Regions from separate parts of the Homo sapiens genome. Here all the other regions are linked to region 3. The links are contacts of gene promoters, found by promoter capture Hi-C in human tissues and cell types (Jung and others, 2019). All regions are on one chromosome and are shown on one strand. The core of a region is centred on a gene start or on the middle of the fragment in contact, and the rest is flanking DNA. Distances in the headings are between cores, read along the strand shown. Region 1 holds the start of MMP25 (matrix metallopeptidase 25). Region 2 overlaps CREBBP (CREB binding lysine acetyltransferase). Region 3 holds the start of ZSCAN32 (zinc finger and SCAN domain containing 32). Region 4 holds the start of IL32 (interleukin 32).

The links. The method cuts DNA at HindIII sites, captures the fragments that hold promoters and counts their contacts. A contact is called where the count stands out against the background at its distance.
Region 1: a contact is called between the fragment with the promoter of MMP25 here and the fragment with the promoter of ZSCAN32 in region 3, in 1 of the 25 tissues and cell types used here (spleen).
Region 2: a fragment that was not itself captured here is called in contact with the fragment with the promoter of ZSCAN32 in region 3 in 2 of the 25 tissues and cell types used here (dorsolateral prefrontal cortex and spleen).
Region 4: the fragment with the promoter of IL32 here is called in contact with the fragment with the promoter of ZSCAN32 in region 3 in 3 of the 25 tissues and cell types used here (IMR-90 fibroblasts, small bowel and spleen).

What each region holds. Positions count from the first base shown.
Region 1 is chr16:3,044,900-3,049,381 of GRCh38, forward strand. It overlaps MMP25 (matrix metallopeptidase 25), which reads left to right and starts at 1,662. Exons shown (of 10, transcript NM_022468.5): 1 at 1,662-2,117; 2 at 2,516-2,648. The coding sequence starts at 2,019. RefSeq lists enhancers at 615-694, 2,543-3,122 and silencers at 1,135-1,334, 1,375-1,664. The HindIII fragment of the contact is 14,233 bases long and covers 1-3,988 here.
Region 2 is chr16:3,866,707-3,871,012 of GRCh38, forward strand. The region is part of intron 1 of CREBBP (CREB binding lysine acetyltransferase); the gene reads right to left. Among named protein-coding and RNA genes, the nearest start is that of CREBBP, 12 kb to the right of the region's middle. The HindIII fragment of the contact is 4,672 bases long and covers 617-4,306 here.
Region 3 is chr16:3,397,965-3,402,428 of GRCh38, forward strand. ZSCAN32 (zinc finger and SCAN domain containing 32) reads right to left here and starts at 3,040. Exons shown (of 7, transcript NM_001284527.2): 1 at 2,981-3,040. ZNF174 (zinc finger protein 174) reads left to right here and starts at 3,251. Exons shown (of 3, transcript NM_003450.3): 1 at 3,251-4,442. The coding sequence starts at 4,041. LOC105371059 (a long non-coding RNA gene) reads left to right here. Exons shown (of 4, transcript XR_007064949.1): 3 at 1-1,562; 4 at 1,667-1,705. RefSeq lists silencers at 2,678-2,827, 3,378-3,597 and an enhancer at 2,801-3,300. The HindIII fragment of the contact is 10,964 bases long and covers 1-4,464 here.
Region 4 is chr16:3,064,390-3,067,820 of GRCh38, forward strand. It overlaps IL32 (interleukin 32), which reads left to right and starts at 1,251. Exons shown (of 7, transcript NM_001376923.1): 1 at 1,251-1,298; 2 at 1,395-1,437; 3 at 2,988-3,026; 4 at 3,165-3,224. The coding sequence starts at 1,423. RefSeq lists enhancers at 745-1,054, 3,393-3,431. The HindIII fragment of the contact is 16,762 bases long and covers 1-3,431 here.

The DNA.
Region 1 (4,482 bases), core at 412-2,911, 350 kb before region 3:
AAAAAACAAACCAGAGAGAGAAGAAGAATTTGTATGTTAAAGCCCTAACCCCCAGTACCTCAGAATGTGATTATAGTTAGAGATAGAGCTGATAAAAAAGTGACTAACTTAAAATGAGGCTTTTAGGGTGGCCCCGATGATTGACTTCTTACAAGAGGTCAATGACCAGGCGCGGTGGCTCACGCCTGTAATCCCAGAACTTTGGGAGGCCGAGGCCGGCAGATCACGAGGTCAGGAGATGGAGACCATCCTGGCTAACACGGTGAAACCCCGTCTCTACTAAAATACAAAAAAATTAGCCGGGCGTGGTGGCGGGCGCCTGTAGTCCCAGCTACTCGGGAGGCTGAGGCAGGAGAATGGCGTGAACCAGGGAGGCGGAGTTTGCAGTGAGCCGAGATCGCGCCACTGCACTCCAGCCTGGGCGACAGAGCGAGACTCCGTCTCAAAAAAAGCAAAACAAAACAAAACAAAACAAAACAAAAGAGGACGATACTTCTGGGGTGTGCAAGCGCAGGGGGACGGCCGTGTGGGGAAACAGCAAGAGGACGCCCATCTGCCTGCCCAGGAGGAGGCATCCGGAGAAACTAGCCCCTCAGGCACCTTGATCTTGGCCTTCCAGTTTCCAGAACTGTGAGAACGTAAACTTCTGGTTGAGCCTCCCAGTCCTTGGTGTTTTGTTCTGGCGGCCCCAGCGAGCGGGCGCGGGATCGCAGTGTTTGCCTTTGCATCTCCAGCTCCGCATCCTGCTCGCTGTTTATTTTGTGAGCAGCTCCGGCGGCTGCCCCTGAACTGCTCCGAGACTGAGCAGTTTAACTCACACTCGCCCACCCGCCCTCCCCAGGAAGCCTCCCGCCCGCTTCCTCCAGTTCCTTCCCCACCTGTCCGGCCTCCTAGCCCGGTGCTCTCGGCGCGGGAGGAGGCGGCTCGCAGACCCCCAGGTCTCGGCTTCCCGGATCTCCCCCGCCTACTCACTCCCCGGTCCCCGGCTCCCGGCACTGGCAGGCGCTGTGGCTTCCGCGCAGTGGCTGCAGCATTTAAATGTCCGGCACTTAGGGAGAGGGGTGCAGTCGCGGAGCAGCCGCTGCTCCCGGCATCTAGAGGGGCCCAAACCCCCGCGTGCCCAGGCCGAGCCCCGCGCGCAGCCCACGTGGGCTGAGGGACTGAGTATTGGCCCTCGGGCAGCTGCAACCGCGCACAGCTGGAGCTGGCGGGGCGGAGGGCGGGCCGGGACCCCGCGGGGAAGGAGGCTTCCTTCCCAGCCTCCTGCTGCCCGGAAATCCCCCCGGCTCTCAGACAACCTGCCCCACGGGGTCCTGGGGGGAAGGAGAGGGGCGGGATACAGGGATGGGGAGGGCTGGCTGAGCCGAAGGCCCGGGCCGCCCTCCCCCAGGCCGCGCGGCTTCGAGAAAGCAGAAGCGAGCCCTGCCCCGGGGAGTCCCACAGGAGCGGGGATCTGGGAAGAGAAACTTGCGGACGAGGGAGTTAGAGCCGTGGACCCCCGGCCCCCGCCCGGGCGTCCTGCGTCGGAGGAGGGTCTCTGGGTCGGGCAGGGGCCACCTCTTGGCCCGCCCCTTGTCGCTGGACGTCCGAAGATTGGGCCATTTCCCTTGCCGCGCCCTTACCGCATATCGGGGTGCGCCCGGCCCGGCCCGGCCCGCCCCACCCAGCCCTCCGCTCGCGCCCGGAGAGGAGGGGCCGCTGGCGCAGCGCCCCGGGACCCCGAGAGGCCGCCGCGGCACATCCAGACCTCCGCCGCTCCCGCGCCCTCTCAACCATCCTGGGATTCCCGGGCCCACCCGACCCAGCGGCGCGACCCTGGCCCTCCGGGACCCTCCGCTGACTCCACCGCGCACTTCCCGGGACCCCCACACACATCCCAGCCCTCCGGCCGATCCCTCCCTACTCGGTGCCGGGTGCCCCCCGCCCTCTCCAGGCCCGGATCTCCTCCCCCAGGTCCCCGGGGCGGCCCCAGCCAGGCCCCCTTCGAACCCCGCCGGCGGCCCGGGCTGGGGCGCACCATGCGGCTGCGGCTCCGGCTTCTGGCGCTGCTGCTTCTGCTGCTGGCACCGCCCGCGCGCGCCCCGAAGCCCTCGGCGCAGGACGTGAGCCTGGGCGTGGTGAGCGCGGGGTCCGCAGGCTCCTGGGGTCTGCAGAGAGATTGGGAGAGGGAAGCCGGGCCCGGACTCCTGGGTCCGGAGGAGGCAGGGGCCAGATTCCAATATCCAAAGAGTGACTGAGGATGGGGTCTGTGCTCCCGGCTTCTTGGGTCTGTCGGGAAGTTTGGGGCTGGGATTTGGAGCTCTGGAAAGGAGCTGAGGTGCGGAGCTGAAGTCCAGACAAGACTGGCAAACCCGGGACTGAAGCGGGGACCTATGGAGGGGAGCAGGCAGGCATCCGGGGCTGGGGCCCTGGGCTCTGGGTGCCTGGGAGGGGCAGGGCTGCCAGGATGGTGGTGGGCAGAGAGAGCCCATACTTTTCACCCAGCCCGCTTCACCTGCCCCCTCCGATGCCCTAGGACTGGCTGACTCGCTATGGTTACCTGCCGCCACCCCACCCTGCCCAGGCCCAGCTGCAGAGCCCTGAGAAGTTGCGCGATGCCATCAAAGTCATGCAGAGGTTCGCGGGGCTGCCGGAGACCGGCCGCATGGGTAGGTGGCCCCCACCCCTCCCCAGCCCTGCCTCTGCACCCAGCCTGTCCACCGCCCAACAGCCTTTAGACCTCAGTGTGCTCCTGGAACACGGAGCTGTGAAGATGCTGATCTCAGGCCCCAAACCCAGAGGGCCTCAGGCGTTCATCTTTCCATAAGCATTTATCAAGAACCTGGTGGCTCATGCCGGTAATCCCAGGGTTTTGGGAGGCGGAGACTCAAGGATTGCTTCAGGCCAGGAGTTTGAGACCAGCTTGGCCAACAAAGTGAGACCCCCCCACTCTCCAAGGATTTTTTTTTTTTTTTTTTGAGACGGAGTATCCCTCTTTTTGCCCAGGCTGGAGTGCAATGGTACCATCTCGGCTCACCGCAACCTCTGCCTCCCAGGTTCAAGTGATTCTCCTGCCTCAGCCTCCTGAGTAGCTGGGATTACAGGCACGCACCATCACACCAGGCTAATTTTGTATTTTTAGTAGAGACGGGGTTTCTCCATGCTGATCAGGCTGGTTTCGAACTCCTGGCCTCAGGTAACCCGCCGGCCTTGGCCTCCCAAAGTCCTGGGATTACAGGTGTGAGCCACCGTGCCCAGTCCTCTAAGGATTTTTTTAAATTTAGCTGAGTGTAGTGGCATAGGCCTGTGGTCCCAGCTACTCAGAACGCTGAGATGGGAAAATTGCTTAAGCCCAGAAGTTCAAGGCTGCAGTGAGCTATGATTGCACCGTTGCACTCCAACCTGGGCAACAGATGGAGACCCAGTCTCTAACCAAATATACTTTGAGCATCTCTTAGATGCCACGCCCTTTCAGCTCCAATGGTATAGTGATAAATAAAGTAGGTAAGGTTCCTGCTCTCATGGAGCTAACTTTCTCGAGGGAGAGAGAGAGAGACAGATCAAGAACATAAATATGAAAGATAATTTCAGATGGCGGTGAGTGTTTAGAAAAAAATAAAATGCTATTGGCATTGAGGGGCTGGTCTGGTTAGGGCAGGTCCCTCTGAAAAGTGTCATATGAGCTGAGACCACAAAGAGGAGGAACCAGCCATGGGAAGATGTGGAAGAAGAGTGTCCCGGGCAAGTGCAAAGACCCCACGGCACGCAGAAGCTTGTGTGCCTGGAGCAAAAGGAGCATTGAAGAGCTCTGGCGAGAGGCCTCAGCCAAGGGCCCTGAAAGGTGATTAGGGTTGATTCCAAGGGTGATTAGCAACCACCTAAGTGTTCTCAGAAGGGAAGCAATTCAGAACTTGGTATGACTTGCAATTTTTTTTTTTTTTTTTTTAGACAGAGTCTCACTCTGTGGCCCAGGCTGCAGTACAGTGGCGCAATCTCGGCTCATTGCAATCTCTGCCTCCCGGGTTCAAGTGATTCTCCTGCCTCAGCCTCCTGAGTAGCTGGGACTACAGGCATCCGCCACCATGCCCAGCTAATTTTTTTGTATGTTTAGTAGAGACAGGGTTTTGCCATGTTGGCCAAGCAGGTCTCGAACTCTTAGCCTCAAGCGATCAGCCCACCTTGGCCTCCCACAGTGCTGGGATTACAGGCATGAGCCACCGTGCCCGGCTTTGACTTGCAGTTTTAAGCTTCCTCTGGGTCCTGATGGAGAATGGAAGGCAGGAGCCCTGAGACCAGGCAGAAGACGGCTGCGGAGTCCACACGAGGGATGGTGGCAGAAGGATGGGTGGCATATGTGGCCAGAAGTAGTTGGATTCGGGGTGTATATTTTGGAGGCAGGGCCGAGGAACTCTTCTGTGGGGTTAAGTGGGCAGGAAGAGGGAATTTGAAGGATCTGGCTCACTACAAGGAAAGGTAGGCCCTGTGTCTGTCCTGGTGACTCAC
Region 2 (4,306 bases), core at 1,703-4,202, 470 kb after region 3:
TCTCTAGCTCAACCCCGAAAAACAATTTCTAGAGATTCCCTTCTAGAAATTTCCTACATACACCATTAGCATATCTTTCTACCCCTAAAAGAGATCTAATTATCATTTTTGCTCTCCATCCTTTGTTTATTGATTCTCAGTCTTTTCTCCCCTCCTAAGTACCCATCACTCTCCCTCAACTGGATCTGCAATGCCAGGGAACTCAGCTACTCTTCTGAAGGAACTTCACTGATTTTACCCTTTCTTTTCTAAAGGATTTCTGAGTCATACTCAGTGTTTTACAATCTCTACATTAATTAACTAAATTAACGAAAAGGTCTGGAGTTAATGAAAATGTTCTTAGAAGTCCTACCCATCAAGAAACTTTATCTGCTTGGTGTTGAAGTAGGTTGCTAACCTACAGATATTTCTATTTCAACTATTAAGGTGGGTAATAAAAACCAGAAGTTTTAAGAATCTATTCCAGGAATTGAGAAACAATAAACACAACTTCTGTGTGAGCTGGCTGCATGACATGCATTTTGATGACAGTAGCAAAACCTCTAATATTCTTTGAGATGACATGGAATTAATTTTAAAAAAACTTTAAGCCTAGGCAACATAGCAAGACCCTGTCTCTACAAAAATAATAAAAAATTATCTGGGCATGGTGGTGCGTGCCTGTAGTCCAAGCTACTGCGGAGGCTGAAGTGGGAGGATGGCTTGAGCCCAGGAGTTTGAGGCTAGAGTGAGCTATAATCTCACCACTGCACTTCAGCTTAAGTGACAGAGCAAGACTCCGTCTCAAACAAAAAACAAGAAAACTTCAATTATTCCTATTTATATAACATAGAGAAAACATTAAAATTGTTTTGTGTTATTTATCTAAATGCAGCACCAAAACATTTTACCGTTAAAAAAGAAGACTTAATTAATTAAAAGAAAGCCTGGGCCGAGCATAGTGGCTCACATCTGTAATCCCTAAACTTTGGGAGGCTGAGGTTGAAGGACTGCTTGAGCCCAGGAGCTCAAGACCAGCCTAGGCAACATAGGAAGACCCCGTATCTCTACTAAAAAAAAAAAAAAAAAAAAAATTAGCCAGGCATAGTGGCATGCACCTGTCATCCTAGCTACTTGGGAGGCTGAGGTGGGATTGCTTGAGCCCAGAAGGTGGACATTGCAGTGAGCTGTGATCAAATAAATGCACACCAGCCTGGCGGACAGAGTGAGACCCTGTCTCAAAATAAATAAAAATAAATTTAAAAAAATAGAACAAAGCCTGCATTTCTAATACTAACATTTCCAACAGCTCTGAGATATGTATCAGTCTGAAAGGCACTGATAGTAGAGTTACATAAAATGGGCTACTTAGGGCAAAAAGAGTAAGAAGAGACCATATTTGCCTGGCTACGCACAGTCCATCTCTAGAATACGTAAGAAACAGCTAACACTGGTTGCCTATGGGGAGGGGAATGACCAGTGACCCCAGAAACAGACAGGAGGAAGAGTTTTCACCAATTACTCTGCTTTTTTGGAATTCTGAACCATATGAATATATTATCTACTCACAAGAACTTAAAAAAACTTTTAAAAGAAAATTGTTTGTACAAAAATTTACTAACATCTTAAATAAGAACACTAGTTCCAGTTCTTAAGCTGCTTTTCATGGGGCCCTTTTCCTGCCAAAAACGGGGCTCAGGAGGGGAAAGCATTGTCTACTCTCCCTACAGACCTGAACTTGGATGAAAAAACACACCTTGAAAAAGCTAATCTAGACTTCTGGAAAATAAATCACAGGAGCTCCCCCAATCACTCTGGACACGGGTTTTTTAAAGCTTAATTTTGTTTTATAAGCCCTAAAAAAAAATAATAACCTGGACTCCTAGGTCTGACATTCAAGGCCCTTGGTGATGTTATCTCGCCTTCAGATGCCCAAGCTGATGCTCTACTCACCCTCAATGAGCTCTGGTGTCCTTCCTCCAACAAGCCTCCCTGACCACCCAGCCTGAGGCATCCACTTCCTTCCAGTCAGACATCGAGCTGAGTGTGAAATGCTATAGGCCACGGTGGGCACCACGGGACTGCTCACCCACCACACCACACAACTCAGAGTTCCATGAGGACAGAAGCAGCTTCTGCCACTACTGTCATCACCACAGCCCAGCAGGGTGCCCCACACGTAAAATGTGCTTAAATATTTGCTGAATAAAAGAATGAAGTGGTAGGAGTCAAGACTGGATCCCGGGCCGACCAACCCCCGCAGGGCAGAACCACACCTTTAGTCTCCACCATCTCAGAAGCAAAACCATGAGGCCTCCTAAATTCTGGTAGCCCAGTGAACATAACCCAAAAACTGTCACAAGAGCCAGACCTCCACCCTGCTATGAGTGCTGTTCCCTCTGCCTGGAACAGTACTATCTGCCATCTCCTATTCACCCTCAGGTGTCAGTGCTAACGTCACAGCCCCCGGGGACTTCCAATACCCTTCAAAACAGGCTCAGTCCCCATCTGGTGCCTCAGTCAATGCACAGTATGTCCCCTCCAAGGTCACACCTGACTGCAGTTACCTGTCCAGTATCCATCACCACCCATGAGGGCAGAGATGGGGCCTGTCACATCCCCACTGGATCGCCAGGGCCTACATCACAGCATAACAAATATTTTCTAAATTAGTGAATAATCCTGAACAGTGTGACCTAAGCCGTGAATATTTTTGAAGGAGTCTTTCATCATTTTTAATTTGGAGTCTTGCATCTTTAAAAGATGATCGTTTTAAAGGAACTTTGTCATAAATATCTAGGTGATACGTATCTTAAAGAAAACTCTAGACAAAGAGGATAAGTAAATGTACTTACAGTTGTGCTGTCCAATACCGTAGTGACTAACTACATGTGGCTATCTTCATTTACTCAAACCAGGTAACATTTAAAATTTAGTTCCTAAGTCACACTAATCACAATTCAAGTACTCAACAGCCACACGTGGCTCGTGGTTCCAGTACTGTGTCATATAGACACAGCGTAGAGCCGCCCTCCCAATAACGACCACTGGACAGCGCTGGCTTGGAGGGCATCCCGAGAACACAGGCATCCCCAAACAAGGAAACATCTCAATTCACCCTCTTCCTCCTGGGAAAGAATCCGTTCTCCCCTAAAGTTTCAGTGACTGAGAAAGCCATCAGTGAAAGCAAAACACTTGATTCTCTTGCCATCATTCAAATGATTCCCTCAGAGACTTCTCAACAGAAGTTCAACTACGGGCAGGTGTGCTCTTCAAACAAAAACCGATTCCCACAGTAGTAGAGGAACAACCACAATGACACAGAAAACCTATCAATATGTTATGTCTTTTTGTTATTTTCAATAAAGGTGACGTTCTGAATATGTAAATCAGATTTAAGTAAAGATATCCACAAATCGGGGAAAAATTTTGTCCACCACGGGGTAACTTTTACTTATAAAAAAAAAAAATCACACCAAATCTAGGAGAACAGAAAAACAGTAATCTCCATTAAAAGAATTTCCTACTATAGAATCTGCAGGAGGAGAAAAGTCACACAGTACAGCACAGAGCTGAATCTGTTCCTTTCAAGATCTGTGTAGCTGAGCCCGAGAGGCAATTGAGTTTCACTGGTATTCCTTTCAACCAACCTGACTAAACTGGACAGTGATCCCAAGGCCATTTTCTTCCCAACTCTGTTTTCAATAAAATACTATATTTATAATTTCTCTGCATTTACTTTTCCCTTTTCTCTAAGTCCTAATCTAAATCAAGCCCTTGTTCTGAAGCAATAACTAGAAACAGAGTTCCATTTAATTAAGAGTTCAATTTTCCAATAAAAAACAGTTGAACTGCAAACACAGACGGAGTAAAATGAGTCAAACGATTACCCATTTTGTAAGATTCTCGAATCTTAGTTCGTTTTCTTACAAACTGGTTCCCAAACTGCACTAGAGCTGGCACTGAAAGCCAAACAGGCAGGGGCAGAAGCTTCCCATGTATTCAGTGAGAAGCCTCCTGATTCCGGGTCAGGCTACATCATCTTAGTCCTCACTGGCCCAAGAAGTAGGTGATGGCTAATATTTTCCCATACAATTAAACAATAAAAACAGCTGCCTCAACCTGCTATATGCCAGGCACCCTAGTAGCCCCATGTACCAAGATAATCAAAGTAAGCAGAAGTAGAGCCAGGCACAGTGGCTCCATCTCACACCTGTAATTCCAGCTACTCAGGAGGCCGAGGCAGGATTGCTGAAGGATGGGAGTTCAAGACCAGCTTGGGCAAGCAAGACCCCATTGGAAAGAAGAAAAGTAATGTAAAGAAGGG
Region 3 (4,464 bases), core at 1,790-4,289:
CATCTTGCTTTTAACCTCCAAACTGCCGTTGGTCATTCCTGGGTGTGGGCCAAGCTAGCTTTGGGAGAAATTTAGTTTATAGTTTGAATGATAATAACCCTTCCCAAAACTAAACTGCCTTTGTAAAACTAATTAAAGACAACTAGGTTAGGAGGATGAGAGGGGCCTGAATTCTGCTAAGATGCAGGCATAATGAAATGATTATCCAGAGGTCACAAGATTTGCAACTTCCCCAATTAAATAACATCACGATTGTAGAACCTAAGATTGGCCTTTTGAGATGCCTTTTCAGGCCTCTGCTTTCTGACAACCAGATGGCTCCACCTAGACCAGGGACTCCTCTGTGGCTCCCACCCAAAATCGCACTCAGCACACAAAAACCGTTTTCCACAGCCCTATGAATGCATCCCCAACCAGTCAGCATTCCCTGTTCCCTACCCAACTGCGTGCCAAAGCCCTAGCCTCTGAATTTCCGGGGAGGCTGACTTGAGTAATAAAACTTTAGTCTCCCATTTAGCCGGTTCTGTGCGTATTAAACTCTTTCTCTATTGCAGTTCCCCTGTCTTGACAAACTGGCTTTATCTAGGCAGTGGGCAAGATGAACCCACTGGGCAGTTACAGTACCAAAAAATATAGTCTTCTCCCAGCCAAGATTCTGTGTCTGCTGACGAATTACTCAAACTGTTCCTGACGATATAGTTCACCTGTTCCTTCCCTTCTTCCCTCACACACCTAGGTCTTTTTCCTGTCCTTCCCTATCCTCAAGAAGCCTGAATTCATGTTCCCAATTGCTACCCTCTCCTCGGGGGAGAACTGGTGTGTGTGTGCTTCTTGATTAACTTCTTCATTACTATTACTCCACACACACACAACGTGGATAAGTGACTGTTCGGGTTTGCTGTATGTTTTTATTTTCCAGCATTCCTTTCCCACTTCTAGTAGCAGCATCTTCTTCCTTTGTGAAAAAGTCCCCCTCGACCAGGCGTGGTGGCTCACGCTTGCAATCCCAGCACTTTGAGAGGCCAAGGCGGGCGGATCACGTGGTCAGGAGATCTAGACCATCCTGGCTAACAAGATGAAACTCCGTCTCTACTAAAAATACAAAAAAATTAGCTGGGCATGGTGGCACGCACCTGTAGTCGCAGCTACTCGGGAGGCTGAGGCAGGAGAATCGCTTGAACCCGGGAGGCGGAGGTTGCAGTGAGCTGTGATCACGCCATTGCACTCCAGCCTGGGCAACAAGAGCGAGACTGTCTCAAAAAAAGAAAAAGTCCCTCTCATTGGTTCTGGTGGGGATATTAATTACAATACCCACTTCCCCAGAAGTGGGCATATGACACACAGCTAGGCCTATCAAAATTCTTTTCTCAGATTTTACATGAGAGGTAGGGAAAGCTCTTCATTTTCTAGGAATTGGTAAATTGGGCAAATGTAAGATCAGAGTTGTCTCCAACTATGTCCCACTCTCTACTCCACTCTTCCATCACAGGAGTGAGCCTGTTTACAAGAGGACAATATACTCAAGTCTTGACAACATGTTTGGATCTCCAAGGCCAGTTTATGTAAGGCAATATTTTTTTAAGAGTTAATTTTAAAAATAGTTTTATATAATTTAAAATTAATAAATAACTTTTAAAAATAATTTTATTTGTTTTTTTATCTTTAGAGATGGAGTCTCACTCTGTTGCCCAGGCTGGTCTCAAACTCCTGAACTCAAGCAATCCTCCCACCTCAACCTCCCAAAGTGTTAGGATTACAAGTATAAGCCACCATGCCCGACCTTAAAAATAATTTTAAATAGAAGCTAACTTTTGTATTTTTTGTAGAGGTGGAGTTTCACTATGTTGCCCAGGCTGGTCTCAAACTCCTGTGCTCAAGTGATCCTCCCACCTTGGCCTCCCAAAGTGCTGGGATTACAGGTGTGAGCCACTGCACCCGCGAAGGCAGTCTTTTTTAATGAGTTTGTGTTGGTTTTTATCTACTTAAAACACAGATTAAAGCAGATCGTAATTTACATTTTCTCCAGGGGCTGATACACCCTCACCATGTGGTATTAAAATGGATCCAGCATGCACAACAAGATGAATATACTCAGGACTACTGAGCTGTACACTTAAAAATGGTTATGATGGTAAATGTTTTTTAAAAATTAAAGAAATTTTTTTATATTTTAAAAATGGATTTGGGTTCCCTTTTCTCAAGGAACTTGAACTGCCTTCACTTAAATTCTCTTTACATTTCAGTGCTTCTAGAGATAGAGAAATCAAGGGCATTATTATTGTTAGCACTGCTTTCTAGCCAAAAAGAAACTGAGAGCGATGAAGTATCTTGCCTAAAGCATCACACAGCACAGCTCCTAGGCAGCAAGGCCAGGACTAGAACCAGCACCCCTTGCCTTCATTATGTTCATCCTGTGCCTTACCTGGCTGAAGAAGAATTTAATAAAAGCTCTTCTAACTTCATGCAGAAGGCGGAACCTGCACCCTTCTTGACCCCTTTTGACCCCTTACCTCCCACTCATCGTTAAATTTTAAAATGCTGTTCTCTGAAAATTTTACTTCACTCTAGCGATGGCCCAAACACTCGGAAAAAAATGTAGCATGAGGATGGGGAGCCAGGTTGATAGGTTTTTCACTTAGTTAACTATTTATTGAGTACTCAGAACGCACTCGGTGCCAGGGCTAGGCACTGTGGATGAGTAGGGAGTGGGCGAGACAGGGACGAGATGAGCAGGGTCAAGGCCAGGGGGTCCCGGGGCGCCGGCGCTCAGGCTCGGGGTGATCCGCACGGTGGGAGCGGGGCACGGTGATCGCGGCGCGTCTGGGGACGCCCGGCCTGAGGGAGGCTGCCTGTCCCAAGGAGACGCCCATCGGGGCCGGACCCGAACGCCTCGGAGAAGACTCCCAGCGGGGAGGGGCTCCTCGGCCGTCGCAGGGCCCAGCGGCTAATCCCGCCGGCCGCAAGGAAGCGGAGAACTCACCGGACACCAGCACTCGCGACTCCACAAACTCCCTCAGCCTCCGGGCCGGAAGTCAGCGGCGCGATTCGCTCCGCCCATTACGCACGCCCCTGCGCAGGCCCGCAAGCCGAATTGCCGGACTGCAGCTCCCGGGATGCACTGCGACGGTATTGACAGGCGCAGCAACCAATAGACGGTAGAGAATGCCCTTGGCAGGAGGCGGGCCCTGTCAGTAGTTGTCCTCAGCAGCTAGTGGGCGTCTCCGCAGCGAGTGGCATCGGCCCCGCCCCCAGCCCGTGCTCGCCGGTGTCGGGTCCTAAGTCCCTCGGTCTTGGGTTCCCGGAGAGGTGAGTCGGCTGCAGGTGGGTGCGGGGCGCCGGGCTGTTCGGGGTACCGGTGTCGCAGTCGCCAGTCCGAGCTCACACCGGGCGTGGAGTTCAGCTGCGCATCGGGTTGCGGCAGCTTCGCCAGGCCTGGGGCTGGCTGGGCCGCGGGGCCGCCCTGGAGGCCGGAGCCACTGGGCCTGCGGCGCCTCGGCAGCGAGCAGCCGCTTTGCTCGCGTGCAGGAGGCTGTTCGCTACCTCACACCCCCGGCTGGCGCTGTGGCCTCGCTTAGCTCTACCGTTTAGCACCCGGCGACATGCACCCGGTCGGTTTCCGCCAGGATGCGGGAGAGTTGGGGCAAGCTACCTGCGACAGCTTGAACTTTTCCTAGGGATTCCGCTCCACCCGCCGGTTAGAGCGTATTGCTCATTAAATCCGAGACCTGTGTGCTTGCTACTGAAATAAAAGAAGTATTTTTTCCCCAGAGTCCTTTTAGGACGTTATGACTTTTCTCCTTTGCAAGACTGCAAAAAACTGACAAGAAGACAAAACTCTTCCCACTCCCAGGGACCGCGTTGTCTTGAGTTTGGCTAGTAAAGGCTAGCAAGTGAGGCTTTGTCTCTGCATCCCGTTCCCCCTAACATCCTCAGAGAACCTTCGTTTCTAGAATCTTTCTAGTATTCAGAGACTTCTCCAGGGTCATGATCCCAAAGGCTTAACCCGTTTACAAGGAGAGAGTTGTCTCCTGACGCCCAAAATGGCAGCTAAAATGGAGATAACTTTAAGCTCCAACACTGAAGCTTCCTCCAAGCAAGAGAGACACATAATAGCCAAACTAGAAGAGAAACGGGGCCCTCCTCTGCAAAAAAACTGCCCAGATCCTGAGCTCTGCCGCCAGAGCTTCAGACGCTTTTGTTATCAAGAGGTGTCTGGACCCCAAGAGGCTCTCTCCCAGCTCCGACAGCTCTGCCGTCAGTGGTTGCAACCCGAGCTGCACACCAAGGAGCAGATTTTGGAGCTTCTGGTGATGGAGCAGTTCCTGACCATCCTGCCCCCGGAGATCCAGGCTCGGGTCAGGCATCGATGTCCAATGAGCAGCAAGGAGATTGTGACCCTCGTGGAAGATTTTCACAGAGCATCCAAGAAACCAAAGCAGTGGGTAAGGAGGGTCCTCTCCCATC
Region 4 (3,431 bases), core at 1-2,500, 340 kb before region 3:
AGTAGCTGGGAATACAGGTGCCGGCCACCACGCAAGGCTAATTTTTGTATTTTTAGTAGAGACAAGGTTTCACCATGTTGGCCAGGCTGGTCTAGAACTCCTGACCTTAGGTGATCTGCCCGCCTCGGCCTCCCAAAGTGTTGGGATTACAGGCGTGACCCACTGCGCCCGGCCTAGGGTGGACCCTATTTCAATATGACTGGTGTCCTTTGGAAAGGGGAAAGGGGGACAGTCACACCCAGGCAGAACGTGATGAAGATGAAGATGGCCATCTACAAGGGCAGGAGAAACCTGAACAGAATCCCAGCTCCGGGCCCTCAGAAGGACCCCACGCTGCCCACATTGACCTTGGACCTCCAGCCTGCAGATCGTGAGGGAAGAGACGTCTTCGACTTAGGGCCCCTTGTCGTGGTACTTCCTTAGTTTGGCCCCAGGAAACCATCCCAAAGGCAAGGGCGTGGTTGTGCTCAGCTGGGGGAAGGGGGCTGGGGGCCGTGAGGAGGAGGTGGGAGGCCCAGCCAGGCTGGAGGGTCAGAACCCGTGGAGCTAGAAGAGCCCGTAGGGGAGCCCCAAGATTGCTGAGACCAGTGACCTTCGGCCCCAGATGGCCTTGCCTTGGCCCAGAAGGGTCAGAAGGACCTGGTCAGCCAAGCTCAGACAGCCGGCAGGATGCCTTCCACCCTGCAGAGGGTCCTATCTTGTCCCACAGGTAGATCTACATCACCACTAGCCACCCCTCCAACGTGCACAGGCCCCTGCCCTCACGGCGCCCCTCTTAGGTCCGGCAGTTCCTGCCTCCTTCTGATCCAGAAGTTTCTCTGGCCTCTGGAGCCGGGGCACACCTCATGCAAGGACAGGGTCCAAATTCCTTTGTCCTTGGATCCCACTTGGCTGACGTCACCTTCCTGTACTCAGGGAGTTTCCCCAGCCAGCTGTCCCGAGTCTGGACTTTCCCTCTGCCCCTCCCCACTCTCAGGCTGGTGGGGTGGGGAAAGCAGCCCATTCCTGGGCTCAGAGACTCCCACCCCAGCTCAGAGGGAGCAGGGGCCCAGCCAGGGACGGACCCTCATTCCTCCCAGGGACCCCAGACCTCTGTCTCTCTCGGGTAAGTCTCCATCTCTGTCTGTCTCTGTCTCTGTCTCTGTCTCTGTCTGTTTTTCACGCACTCAGCAAGGCCTCCTGCCCTGAGAGAGGCTCCGCCCACTACCCCCCACTTTCCCCATAAAACCAGCTGAGTATTTGTGCCAGGAAGACTGCGTGCAGAAGGTGACTGTCTCAGTGGAGCTGGGTCATCTCAGGTGGGGAGTTGGGGTCCCCGAAGGTGAGGACCCTCTGGGGAGGAGGGTGCTTCTCTGAGACACTTTCTTTTCCTCACACCTGTTCCTCGCCAGCAGGCCTTGGCTCCTTGAACTTTTGGCCGCCATGTGCTTCCCGAAGGTGAGTGAGAGGCTGCGTGTGCTTTTGTGGGCATGTCTGAAAACAGACCGTAAGGGTGCGGGTGCCCTCAGTATTTCCCGAGGTGCCTGTGTGTCAGGGCTCAGTCAGGGGCACCCAGCGGCAGGAGGATAGTGATGGGGTGAGAGTGTCAGTGGAGGCGCTGGAGGTCATATGTGTCGGGGGCGCTGGAGAACGGCAGGGGTGTGGATGAGAGGGAGCACCTGTCCCAGGAGCCCTTCACAGCCCGGAAAGCCCGGGGCAGGGGTGGGGCAGGGCTCTGCTGGAAACGACTCGGAGAATGCTTCTCTCAGAGGCCGGCTCAGCTGGGTGGGCCCAAGAGCAAGGCCTGTGTGGGTCCTGGTGTCTCTTCCTCCTTTCCTGGGTTCCCTCCGACCTCCCATCCTCTACCACTGCCCCACCGCAAATGCTAGGCCCACCACACCCTCCAGGGAGCTCTTCGGCCTGTGACAATAGGGGTTTCCATGATGTGGCCTGGCTCAGGTTCAGGACAGTGACCCGGAGGACACATGGCTCCCGCATGTCGGCACGGTGCTGCTTTCACCCTGGTTCCTGGGAAATCAGGCTAGCGGGATGGGACCATCGCTGCCTGAAAGTGTGCAGACAGCTGCCCTGCCCAGAATATGTCCCCAGGCCCTGCGCACTCTGTGGGTGACTGTCACCACTCTATAGTGGGGGAAACCAGGCATGTCACCCCCGAGACTAGGCCCTTGACGTGGGGGCTCAGCGGGGATTCTGTGGGGTGCCTCTGGCCTCTGTGGATGCAGCCACGTGTCTGCAGGCAGGAATGGCCCGGGACCTGTGGGTCTGCATGTTGGCAGTCGGGAAGAGTGGCAGGTTGTAGGGTGGACCTACCTGGCACCCCAAATATTAATCAGCTCATCAGAGAGGAATGGCTGCTGTTACCTTCTCAATTGTCATGTCCCTAAACATTTTTTCCTTGGCCAACTCTCACCTGGGACCATAGTGGTTGTGGGAAACCCAGCTGAGCCAGCCTGCTCCAGGACAGTGTCCATCCTCCCGTGTGTGTACATGGGGGGGTGTGTGTGTGCAGGGAGGACACCCCGGCCCACGCAGGCCCTGCTCTTGTGAGGAGGGGTCACCTAGGCCCACGCAGGCCCTGCTCTTGTGAGGAGGGGTCACCTAGGCCCACGCAGGCCCTGCTCTTGTGAGGAGGGGTCACCTAGGCCCACGCAGGCCCTGCTCTTGTGAGGAGGGGTCACCTAGGCCCACGCAGGCCCTGCTCTTGTGAGGAGGGGTCACCTAGGCCCATGCTGGCCCTGCTCTTGGGCCTGCCCAGCTGAGCCGGCTCCTGAGAGAAGCGCTTTCTGAGTCGTTTCGAGGACAGCCCTGGCCGGTCTTTCCAGGCTGTGAGGGGCTCCTGGGACTGCTGTCTCCTCTTATCCTGTACCTCTGCCATGTGTCTCTGTGTGTGTGTGTGTGTGTGTGTGTGTGTGTGTGTGTGTATAAATTATCCTGGAGGAAAGGTTAAGGTGACACATGGAGACTGAGTGTCACCGTTATTTCCGCAGGTCCTCTCTGATGACATGAAGAAGCTGAAGGCCCGAATGGTAATGCTCCTCCCTACTTCTGCTCAGGGGTTGGGGGCCTGGGTCTCAGCGTGTGACACTGAGGACACTGTGGGACACCTGGGACCCTGGAGGGACAAGGATCCGGCCCTTTGGTGCCAACTCTGCCTCTCTTCACAGCACCAGGCCATAGAAAGATTTTATGATAAAATGCAAAATGCAGAATCAGGACGTGGACAGGTGGGTGGATTTCCCCTCAGGCACCAGGTCACATGTCCCCGCCCCCAGGCACTCCACCCTGTGTGGGGCTCAGGGTGAGAAGGATGAAGAGGGACCCACAGGCTCCCTCACCCCTTACCGTGGGCAAATGCTTGCACCTGGGTGGCAGTGAGTGGGCGGGTGGGGGATCTGGACGCCCGGGGAGACTGAGGGAGGCATCCAAGCCCC